2 separate regions of the Homo sapiens genome follow, and region 1 is linked to region 2. Evidence: promoter capture Hi-C in 16 types of primary human blood cells and fetal thymus (Javierre and others, 2016). All regions are on one chromosome and are shown on one strand. The core of a region is centred on a gene start or on the middle of the fragment in contact, and the rest is flanking DNA. Distances in the headings are between cores, read along the strand shown.

What was found. The method cuts DNA at HindIII sites, captures the fragments that hold promoters and counts their contacts. A CHiCAGO score of 5 or more calls a contact.
Region 1: a fragment that was not itself captured here is called in contact with the fragment with the promoter of PRKCI in region 2 in 3 of 17 cell types (non-activated CD4 T cells, total CD8 T cells and naive CD8 T cells); the score reaches 6.2 in non-activated CD4 T cells.

Annotation. Positions count from the first base shown.
Region 1 is chr3:169,757,164-169,762,701 of GRCh38, reverse strand. No RefSeq gene overlaps it. Among named protein-coding and RNA genes, the nearest start is that of ACTRT3, 9.6 kb to the left of the region's middle. The HindIII fragment of the contact is 1,828 bases long and covers 2,140-3,967 here.
Region 2 is chr3:170,218,011-170,223,988 of GRCh38, reverse strand. It overlaps PRKCI (protein kinase C iota), which reads right to left and starts at 1,565. Exons shown (of 18, transcript NM_002740.6): 1 at 1,219-1,565. The coding sequence starts at 1,319. RefSeq lists a silencer at 1,205-1,494 and enhancers at 1,675-1,834, 1,845-1,904, 1,975-2,034. The HindIII fragment of the contact is 16,903 bases long and covers 1-5,978 here.

The sequences.
Region 1 (5,538 bases), core at 1,804-4,303, 460 kb after region 2:
TGAGTGACTCTAGCAGATGAAGAAACTGCTGCGGAGAGGGGTTTTAGTTACTTGCCTAAGTTATTTACTTGCCTAAGTTAATTTTTTTGCAGAGTTGTGACCAGAAGCTAGGCTTCCCAAGTTCTAGTCCAGTGTTCTGTTCACTGTATTGCACCCTAAGTCTTTGTTGGTTAACCTGGGGCAGATGGTTAGCATTAACTCCATCGTCACTTTCTGGTTTAAAATAAAATAACCTCCTTAATGGTTGTAACCTTGGTTTCCACCCCACATCCACTCCCGCCCTAATACTCTTCGATGTGATTTTGTGCTGTGTGTGTTTCACTTTTTTACAAGTACAGTTGATTCTAGTTATTTGCAGTAGTTACATTCTGTGAAGCCTCTGTGAACACTGGATTAGTGAATACTGAACCATTGCTCCCAGAGGAATTACGGGATTAGGTTCCTGGGAACATTCGGTCACAACATTTTTGTCAAAGAATCGATACATAATCTTGTGTGTGTTTCTGTTAAAGACATCCTAAAGTATGTTGTTGATTCATTAGCACTGAACTCATATTCAACAACACTATCACTTAAGCCTGAATGAAGGCTAACACAAGTATTTTTTTTCTGTAAGACACATCACAGCTTTCTTGTGCTTAGGAACGCTAGACAGCACTTAAGCACTATGATTGGGGGTCATTTTAAACAGCACAGTCACCAACTAAAAGCATACAAATGTGAAAAACTTGCCATTAAATAGACCAGAAATAGGACACTTGTTTATAGTGTCCTTTTTGGACTACAAAGGCAAAAGAGAACCTATGTGTTGGGGAAATCAAACTTTTCAGGGCTCTGCACATGCCCATGAATGACTATGAAAGCACTGCAGGTATTGCTTTTGAGATTATAAACAATTTCGGTGACTAGGTGAATCCACAAATACAGAATCTATGAATATTGAGGGTTGACTGTACTTCAAGGTCTATGTGACAGCTGTATCTGAGAGAGACTACAGATGTCCACATGGTTCCTGAGGTACTTAGGGCTTGTTTCATGCCTTTTATATTATTTAAACCAGTGATTCTCAAAGGGGTATAGTGAGAGAAAGGGTATATGAAGTTTGCAAATGACGATACTTGTTCTCTTTATTTTGTTACTTAGGTTGTATTTCACATGAAGGATGTGAGAATTTTATGCGTATGAAGGAAGCATTAGCTTTAAAAATACTGAGAAACATGCTTTTTCTTTTGTCCTTCAGAATGAGGGGCTTCCTTTGTAAGGTCTGGAGTTGGTTATGGGTTTTGACTCTGAGGATGACATTGAGTTTTAATTCAGCTTGTCCTGGTTCTGCAGTCAAAAATTCCATGTTAGCCTGGCTCGAGACTTAAGAGACAAATAGATGGCACAGGCACAAGCGTGTGTACACATGCACCCACCGTCATACAAAGTGTAAGGGAGGAGTGGTTTTAAATAAGATGAGAATGAAGTGACAAAAGGTAACTGTCATTCCTTCATGTTCATTCTTTTAAGGTAATAATATGTGATGGAAGTAAAAACAGCGAAAATACCCAAGAATTAGCCCAGGATATGCAAATTTAAATGTCTGCAGTGGACAGAAAGGAAACAAAGAAGTGAATCACACTGGGAATAAGAAAATGGAGACTATAGAGATGGTAGGGAGAATGAGCTTCCCTTTTTAAGGAGGCAGCAATCTTACAGAAATTGAGCCTAAAATTGTCAGTATTGCAAGAGAAGACAAAAATTCAGATTTTTATGTCAACACCACTGATTATAGAATGTTGGTAGCTAAATTGAAATAAAATTTAAATATTATATAAGTGCATGGTAAAGAATTTGGATGGCTTTTGTTCCTGAACCCTGGGAAGTAGCCTCTAAACCCTTGGAATTCACCAAGAATGGTGGGAGTGTCTTTTCTTGGTAGGCCTCTTGGACTAGACCCAATAGTTTACACTAACGAGATGACTCATGACTGGGGGTTGGTCAGCCATGTGATTAGAGTGTTGGGGCTTTGGGCCCCATGATACTAGCCCGACCTCTTGAGAGACTTGGAGCCACATGTCTGAGCCTTATGACTAGTGATTCATCCAATCATGCCTGTAATGAAGCCCCAATAAAAACTCTGGACACACTGAAGCTTGGATGAACGTCCGTGGTTGGCAGTACTCAGTGTGCTAGGAGGAAAATGTGTCCCTGAGGACATGAGGAGAGGGACAATGGAACCTTCTTTCTGGGACCCTCCCAGACCTCACTCTATGTGTCTCTCCCTTTGGCTGGTTTTGATTTGAATCCTTTTGCTATAATAAAACCATAATAATAACTATAATAAACATCCTTTTGCTATGATAAAACTGTAATAAAACCGAAATAACACTTTCCTGAGTTCTCTAAGTCATTCTACTGAATTATGAAACTTGAAGGGGTAGTGGGAACCCCTAAATTTGTAGGCAGCTTGTCAGATGTAAGGATGGCCTGGGGACCTCCTAGCTTAGGTTGTTGATAGCTGAAGTCATTGCAATGCACCAATAAAAAAACGTTTTGAGATAAAATCTGGTCTATTATAGGCTATTAATTTGCGACCTTTGGCCTAGGCAAATTTAAGCATTCCTGAGTGCTTTCTCTAGAAGGGTGAGGGTTTGGACCATCCTACCAGTTTGAGGCCTACCCAAAATAAATGTATTTGAGAGGAGTTTACACTGGTGGTATCTGTTATAGGTTTCTGGGAATATCACTAAAGAGAAGTTTCAAAATTAAATTTTAATAATATTCTGAAAATAGTAGTGCTAATCCTTCACGTATAGGGGTTAGGGTATTTCTTCCAGTGGTTCTGCCTGAGGGGTGGGCCTGTTTTTCAGTGTCCATTCTGTCAGTCGTTATGGGATGTGAAGAGGGTTCCAAGGGTTCCACCATCACTAGGTGGAAATGAGGCAACTTTTCCCATATTTTTCCTTTACTCTGGTTTGTATCTCCCCTCCTAGGTAGGTATCAAAGTATATATGGTCTTCATTTGTGTTGCCTCAAATTCTCATTTCTTCCTTGATATAAAAAGGAAACAGGAAGACATTGAAATAAGGATATTATTGTGGTCCTGTACTTTTACCCTGTTCTAACCTAGCTGAGGGAATCTAGCATAAGTCACCCAACTTTACATTCCACATGTGTCAACCGGATGTACTAAGACTTCCCTTGAAGGGTGGTTGTGGGGAGAATATATGAGTAATATATATGACAGCAACTGGTATTATTAATGAGAGGAGAAGTCTGTCTTACTCTTTACTTTGCAAGTAATGATTTTACAGCGCTCTGATGGGTATGTTGTAGTTACTCTGGCAGGAAGTGGTTTTGACTTGGGTATATAGTTAAGAGATATATGGAGAAGGGTGGAAGTGCTAATGGTTTGTGAATTTTTAAAATAACACCAATTATGAACTTGATGCACACCTGCAGCTAGAATCTTTCTCTAGATGATGTTTGACTATCATTTTTTTTTTTTTTTTTGTCTTGGGGCTCTAGGTTTTCACTTTGGTGATATTTATGTGTGTACTATGGCTGTCTATATAAGTGTTAAAAGGCATAATTATAGTTATTAAAAACAATTTAAGGAAAACAGAAAAATGCAATAATGAAGAAATACAAATACTGACTTTTTTGTATGATCAATGAGGATATTATAACTAAAATGAAAAACATTATACATATCAGTTGCAAAAACAGTTACATTCCCCACAATCTTTTTAAAAAATGCGAGTAGTTTGCTAAAGTGAACTGGGTGACTTATTTTCAACCTTGGAAGAAAAACTCAATTAAAGCTACATTTGAACTGTAATGGCACCAAGGAGTTCAACTTGACCTCATATGCCAGATTATAATCATCTTTCAAGTGTACAAACAAGGAAGCATAGTTATCAAAGAATGAGAAATACGTTTGTTCAAAGACCATTTACTGCTTTAACAAGAGGTGAAAGCTTGCCAGAAATATATAAACACCTACCCCAGTGCTATTCATAGGCTTAACATGTTCAAAGACTTGGGGGCGGAGGGGGGGCAATTTAAAAATATCTTTGAAGTTGTGGGTATTCATCATCATATCTAATAATGCTTACTTTCTAGAGCCCCTCTCCAAGGAGGGCAAAGCAATTTATCTGACTTATTTTCATGACATCCTTGTGAGATAAGGCAACCACCATTATCTCCCTTCTGCAAATGGAGAAACTGAAACGTTGGGAGGTAAAATCACTTGAAGAAGGTCAGTAGCAGGCCTAAGAATGTAAATACACGCATTTTAGCTTTTAACTGCTATTTTACTTTACAGAAAACTAAACAAACAAAAAATAATTTTAAAAAAATCACATACTTTTTCATTCTCTTTTTAAGTTAAAGAATAATTACTCATCTATCAACTTTTCCTTGGTAAGGAAAACAGTTTAAATGGCTTTTCACAATAACTGGAATCTTATTATACTGGAATGAATGAACCACTTGCAAAGTTGTGATGTTCATTTAACAAACACTAAATACCTAGTCTGCAACATGTTGTATTGTTCAGGGTGTTGAGACTTCAAAGGTGAAACATATATTCCTCATCTTTAAAGGTCTTCCTGGAGAGAGAGATTCTATAAGCAAATTATATGGTGCAGTCTCATGTTATTTAAATTTACTAAATTCATCATTTTATCCCCCAAATCTATTTTTTCTTCCCTTTCCCCTTCCCGTAAATGCTACTGCTACACCCAGGAGCTAAAACCAGTCTTCTGGGCACCACTGCTGATGTCTCATTTTCCCCGCACCCTGCCGTGTCCTCTGGTCTATTTTTTTTTTTTTTGAGATTGGGTCTTGCTCTGTTTCCCAGGCTGGAGTGCAGTGGTGTGACATAGCTCACTGCAGCCCTGAGGCTGAGGTGCGAGGGTCACTTGAGCCCAGGAGTTAGCACAGAGGCAAATGCTAAGTAATCTAATTAATAATGCTTTCTAATTTTTTCAGTTACAAAATTAATGTGACAATATCATAAAAAAAGGTGAGAAATAGAGGGACTACAGATGTGCACCGCCAGCCTAATTTTTAAAATAATTTTTTTGAGAGTCAGGAGCTTGCTATATTGCCCAGGCTGGTCTTGAACTCTTGGCCTCAAGTGATCCTCCCACTTTGGCTTCATTTCTACTACCTTAATCTAGTTCACTATCTTTTTTTTTTTTTTTTTTTTTTTTTGGAGAGAGAGTCTTGTTCTGTTGCCCAGGCTGGAGTGCAATGGTGTGATTTTGGCTTACTGCAACCTCCACCTCCCAGGTTCAAGTGATTCTCCTGCCTCAGCCTCCCAAGGAACTGGGATTACAGGCACGTGCCACAACGCCCAGCAATTTTTGTATTTTTAGTAGAGATGGGGTTTCACCACGTTGGCCAGGCTGGTCTTGAACTCCTGACCTCAGGTGATCCACCTGCCTTGGCCTCCCAAAGTGCTGGGATTACAGGTGTTAGCCACTGCCCCAGCCCAGTTCACCATCTTCTACAAAGACCTGACAGGTCTTTCTACTTCTTATCTTG
Region 2 (5,978 bases), core at 316-2,815:
TATACACATGTAACTAACCTGCACATTGTGCACATGTACCCTAAAACTTAAAGTATAATAATAAAAAAAAAAGTCCTTACATCAAATCAATACAACATTTAGGGGCTCAGATTTTCTTTGAAATCAAAACAAGAGAGGTAGTTTGAGAGTTTGCTATCTTCACTGATCCTCTCAGGAATGTAAAAGTATGCATTAAAATTTCAACCTAGCACTGCTTGAGTTTTTTAAAGCAATTTACTTCTACCTGGACAAGCAGTAAGGCAAGCCAAAGTAGCTGGGTTTTCTGTGACTTCTCAGTCTCCAACCTTTATGGTCACACTAACATTTCACGTTTCTAATGCTCCTAAACATAATTATCTCAAAAAAAAATTCAAACCACAACTGAATTTAAAGGAAGGGGGGCACTTTGCGTCACTGATAGAAAATGATTTAACACAATGAACTTAGAACTGGGTTTTTTCTTGTAACCATAGTAAGGGAGTGAAGATCAGAGAATTTAAAACTGTAACTAGGCTAGTCTCCTCACCTTGCAGTATCTCACCCTATCGGGTAGTCGTTGAAACAACACTGAGAAAGAAAGGCTCACAAAATTTTGATTTACACACATGCAACTTAATCTTGACGACACGTAAGTACCCACTGCACGTCCCTGAAAACGCATCGACTTGATTCTTAAATACAACCCCTATGTCTAATATACTGGCAGTGCAGATACACTACGTGAACACAACGGGGATGGAGGTATATCTCAGAGAACCAGAGGCGTTAGGCCTGCTGGTAATCAAAACGGACAGCTAACTGAAGAAGTCCCGTTTTCTATCCCCACAGCAAACTGAGTTAACTAAGGCATCACTTGGAATCCTCAACTCGCAACCCCAAATACACCCAGACTTAAGGATGCAAGGCCCCTACAAAGCTCTCAGGAGGCGAGTCTCTCGTCCACACCAGGTGCACCTACTCTAACCCTAGCTTCCTTCTCGGACCCTACTCTGGCCCCTCGGCTCCCCGCACCGCCATACCTGGGGGCGCCCCCAGTACTGCATCCCCTTGCTTCGCCCCCACCCCTATCACTTCGTCACTCACCCTGAGTCACCGGAGCCGCCCGCCCGCCCAGCCCAATCCGCCCACAACACCTCCAGCCCCTCACCCTCCCCTCCTCCAGGCCGAGTGGAGCCGGCCTGTCCCCTCCCGCCCACCGCCCTGTCCCAGGACACTCACCCGCGGTAGTAGGCTTTCACCCGGACCTGGTGGGAATGGTCCCCGCTGCCGCCGCCTGCGACCGTGTGGGACATGGTGCTGCTGTCCCTCTGGGTCGGCATCTCCTCACTCCCCCGCCTCAACGCTGGAGGCCGGGGGTGCGGGGGGGCGCTTCGGGCGCCGTGGGGGACTCCGCCGCCTGCGCTTGCCGGAGAACCGCGGCCGTCCGCCCACCTACCTGCCCACCTCGCCCGCAGCGCCGACCCAAGGGTCGCCTCGCCGGAGCAGCCGGAACCGCGCGGCTCCTCCCACTGCCCGTAGGCGCCGCCGCCTCTACAGCCGCCCGGGCCCAAGACACCTCCTGCGTCGGTCCCTCCCACTTCGCTCGCTCCAAAGGCCCACATTCCGGGGTAGGGCGGGCGCAACCATCCAGCCAGCTCAAGGAGCCTCAATACCGGGCTGAACCATCCTTACGGGGGCAGAGAAAGGGGACAGAGGGAATGGGAGACGCTGATCATGGCATCAAACACGCCGAGAGGGGTGCTTTCACGCGAGCTGTGAAAGAGACAATGACCAGCTCTAGATCACTAAAGTCTCTTCCCTGCAGGGACAATGGTAGGGACAAATTCTACGACACCTCACCCTAGCCTCGCAACTTGGTCACGTCTGCGGTCGGCCGACTTGGCACCCGGGATAGATTTGCGTGCAGGTTTCTGGGATTTGGAGTCCTCATAGGATTCTGGGACTTGAGGTTCCTTGCGCGTAGGGTGCCGCGCCTTCCCGCTGGTGAAGTCTGTCTCTCCAGCGTGCTCCCTGGAGCTGTCGGGGTGGAAAACCTGGATCCAGCTTGGGCATCTGAAGGTCCTGGAAATGACTGGGCTTCCTCACGTTCTAGACTTTATTAACTGATGAAGTCTCCCTTCTTCTAATTGCATAAATCGTCTGAATTATACATGTCTTTTGGGGGAACAAGAATTTGGTTACCTGCTCAGCATAACCTCTTTTATGGAAATAATTTAATAACATATGTAACAAATATAATAAAGGAAGAAACTCAACCAGAAAATATGATGAAAAACCGATTTTTCTTCTTTGGGGGCCCCCATATCTAGGCCCTTGTAGACTGCCCTTGCATGGAACAAGAGCCCAATGAATACTTACCCAATCAAGTCAGTCAATCCAAGAGCATTTCATTCTGTAAAAACTGGCTTACCAAAGATTAGAAAGAATCGTCCTTGGCCGGGCGCGGTGGCTCAAGCCTGTAATCCCAGCACTTTGGGAGGCCGAGGCGGGCGGATCACAAGGTCAGGAGATCGAGACCATCCTGGCTAACACGGTGAAACCCCGTCTCTACTAAAAACACAAAAAATTAGCCGGGCGTGGTGGCGGGCGCCTGTAGTCCCAGCTACTCGGGAGGCTAAGGCAGGAGAATGGCGTGAACCAGGGAGGCGGAGGTTGCAGTGAGCCAAGACTGTGCCACTGCACTCCAGCCTGGGCGACAGAGCAAGACTCTGTCTCAAAAAAAAAAAAAAAAAAAAAAAAAAAGAATCGCTCTTGTAACCTAGTCTTTGACTTTCCTAGGATCTTGGCTCTGACACATAATTTACACTGCAACTACAGGTAGCATGAATCCAGCCCCTGCAGCAGTCCTGGTGCTGAAAGAGTTGGAATAATCAAAGAAATAGCTTTCTTTACGATGATAAAATAGGCTTGGGGGACTGAGTCATCAGTTATGTGTGACACTTCAGCGTGGTACGACATCCTCCAACTGCTACAGACTTGGATTATATACTCTTACTAAAAATTCCCCTTGAGTCAGGCAAAGTGCTACATGCCTGTAGTCCCAGCCTTTGAGAGGCTGAGGCTGGAGGATCACTTGAGCCCAGGAGTTCAAGGCCAGCCTGAGCAACATGGTGAGACCCCATCTCTTAAACAAACAAAAAAATCCCATTGAAAAACTTGGTATCAGGTTTTTCAGTAATTGGAGACCTGCATCAGCAAGTTTAATACGGAGCGATTAATTATGGAATATATTATAAAATATACGGGCACCTGTAATCCCAGCTACTCCGGAGGCTGAGGCACGAGAATCGCTTAAACCCAGGAGGCAGAGGTTGCTGTGAGCCTCTGAGACTGCACCACTGCACTCCAGCGAGACTCCGTCCCTGGGCAACACAATGCACAGTGAGATCCCGTCTCATTTTTTTAAAAAAAGATAATTCACATGCCATACAACTTACTCATTTAAAGTGTAAAATTTGATAGTTTTAAGTATCTTCACAAAGTTTTGCAACCATCACCTCTACCTAAATCCAGAGTATTTTCAGCACCCTGAAAGTAACTGCATATCCATTAGCAGTTACTCCCCACTCTCCTCAACCTCTGGCAACCAATAATATATTTTCTGTTGCTATGAGTTTTTCTATTCTGAACATCGCTAGTAGCTGGGACTACAGGCATGTGCCACCACACCCTGCTAAATTTTGTGTTTTTTGTAGCGCCGGGGTTTTGCCATGTTGTCCAGGCTGGTCTCAATCTCCTGGACTGAAGCCATCTGCCTGCCTCAGCCTCCCAAAGTGCTGAGATTACAGGTGTAAGCCACCATACCCAGTGAAGGTTTCAGTTTTTTTTAATGTCCTTGCCAATACTTGGTTTTTTTCCCATCTTCTTTATCATAACCATCCTAGTGGTTGTGAAGTGGTATCTCATTACAGTTTTGATGTACATCTCCCTAATGACTAATGATGTTGGGTATGTTTTCGTGTTTTTATTGGCCATTTATATATCTTCTTGGAGAACTATCTATTCAGATCCTTTAATCATTTTTAAATTGGGTTGTCTTTTTTCATTGAGTTGTAAGAGTTCTCTCTTTTCTTTTTTTTTTCTTCAAGACAAGATCTTGCTCTGTTGCACAGACTGGAGTGCATGGCATGATCACAGCTCTCCAACTCCTGGGCTCAAGCGATCCTTCCACTTCAGCCTACTGAGTAGCTAGGCCCATAGGCATATGCCACCACACCCAGCTAATTTGTTTTTCTCGTTTTTGTAGAGACTAGGTCTTCCTATAATGTCAAGGCTGATCTTCAACTCCTGGGCTCAAGTGATCTTCCCACCTTGACTTCCCAAAGTGCTAAGATTATAGGTGTGAGCCACCATGCCTGGCCAGAGCTCTTTATATATTCTGGAAATACATCTCTTATTAGATTATTTGCAAATATTTTCTCCCACTCTGTGCATTATCTTTTCATTTTTTTAATCTTTTCATATTTTTGATGGTATTATTTGCAGCATAAAAATTTTTAATTTTCACGAGGTCTAATTTATTTTGTTGTTGTCACGTATGGTTTTTGTTTGTTTTACTGTGTGCCAGACTATATGTTATATATGTTTTTAGTGTCATGTCTAAGAGGGCTTTGTGTAATCTAAGATCATGAAGATTTACACCTATATTTCCTTCTAGAAGTTTTATAGTTTAAACTCTTACTTTTTAGCTTATGATCCATTTTGGGTTAATTTTTGTGTCTAATGTAAGTGGTCCAAATTGATTTCTTTGCATGTGGATATTCAGTTATCCCACCATCATTTGTTGAAAAGACTATTTTTCTCCCATTTAATTGTTTGCACAATTGTCAAAAATCAAATGACCAAAATTTAAGGGTTTATTCCTGGATTTTAAATTCTATTCTATTGATTGATTTGTCTATCCTTTGACAATAATCACAGTGTCTTCATTACTGTAGTTTTTTAGTAACTTTTAAAACAAGGAAGTGTGAGTCTTACAACTTTTTTTTTTTTCAAGAGTGTCTTGGCTATTCTGGATCCCTTACATTTTCATGTGAATTTTAGGATCAACTTGTCAATTTCTTTAAGAAAGCCAGCTGAGATTTTGATAACGATTGCCTTGAATCTGTGAATCAGTTTGTGTGGTTTTTGTCATGTTAACAGTATTAAACCTTCCAATCCATGAACATGGGATAACTTTTCATTTATTTAGGCAGCTTCAATTGCTTTCTCATTTTCAGAGTATACATTTTGCACTTCTTTTACTCTTAAATATTTTATTCTTTATAATGCTATTGTAAACAAATTGTTTTCTTAGTTTCCTTTTTGAATTATTCACTTCTACTATAGAGAAATGCAGTTGATTTTTGCATATTGTTGATATTGTATTGCAGAACTTGTTTATTAGGTGAATTCCTTAGGATTTCCTGCATATAAGACTGTCATTTTTTTTTTTTTTTTTTTTGAGATGGAGTCTCGCTCTGTTGCCCAGGCTGGAGTGCAGTGGCACGATCTGGGCTGACTGCAAGCTCCGCCTCCTGGGCTCATGCCAGTCTCCTGCCTCAGCCTCCTGAGTAGCTGGGACTACAGGCACTCGCCACCATGCCCAGCTAATTTTTTGTATTTTTAGTAGAGACAGGGTTTCACTGTGTTAGCCAGGATGGTCTCAATCTCCTGACCTCGTGATCCACCCGCCTCGGCCTCCCAAAGTGCTGGGATTACAGGCGTGAGCCACTGTGACCAGCCAAGACTGTCATTTTAAAATACAGATTAAAAAACAAATAAAATGAGGCCAGGTGTGGTGGCTCATGCCTGTAATCCCAGCACCTTGGGAGGCTGAGGCGGGCGGATCACGAGGTCAGGAGTTGGAGACCATCCTGGCCAACGCAGTGAAACCCCGTCTCTACTAAAAAAAATACAAAAAATTATCCAGGTGTGGTGGTGGGCACCTGTAGTCCCAGCTACTCAGGAGGCTGAGGCAGGAGAATGGCGTGAACCCA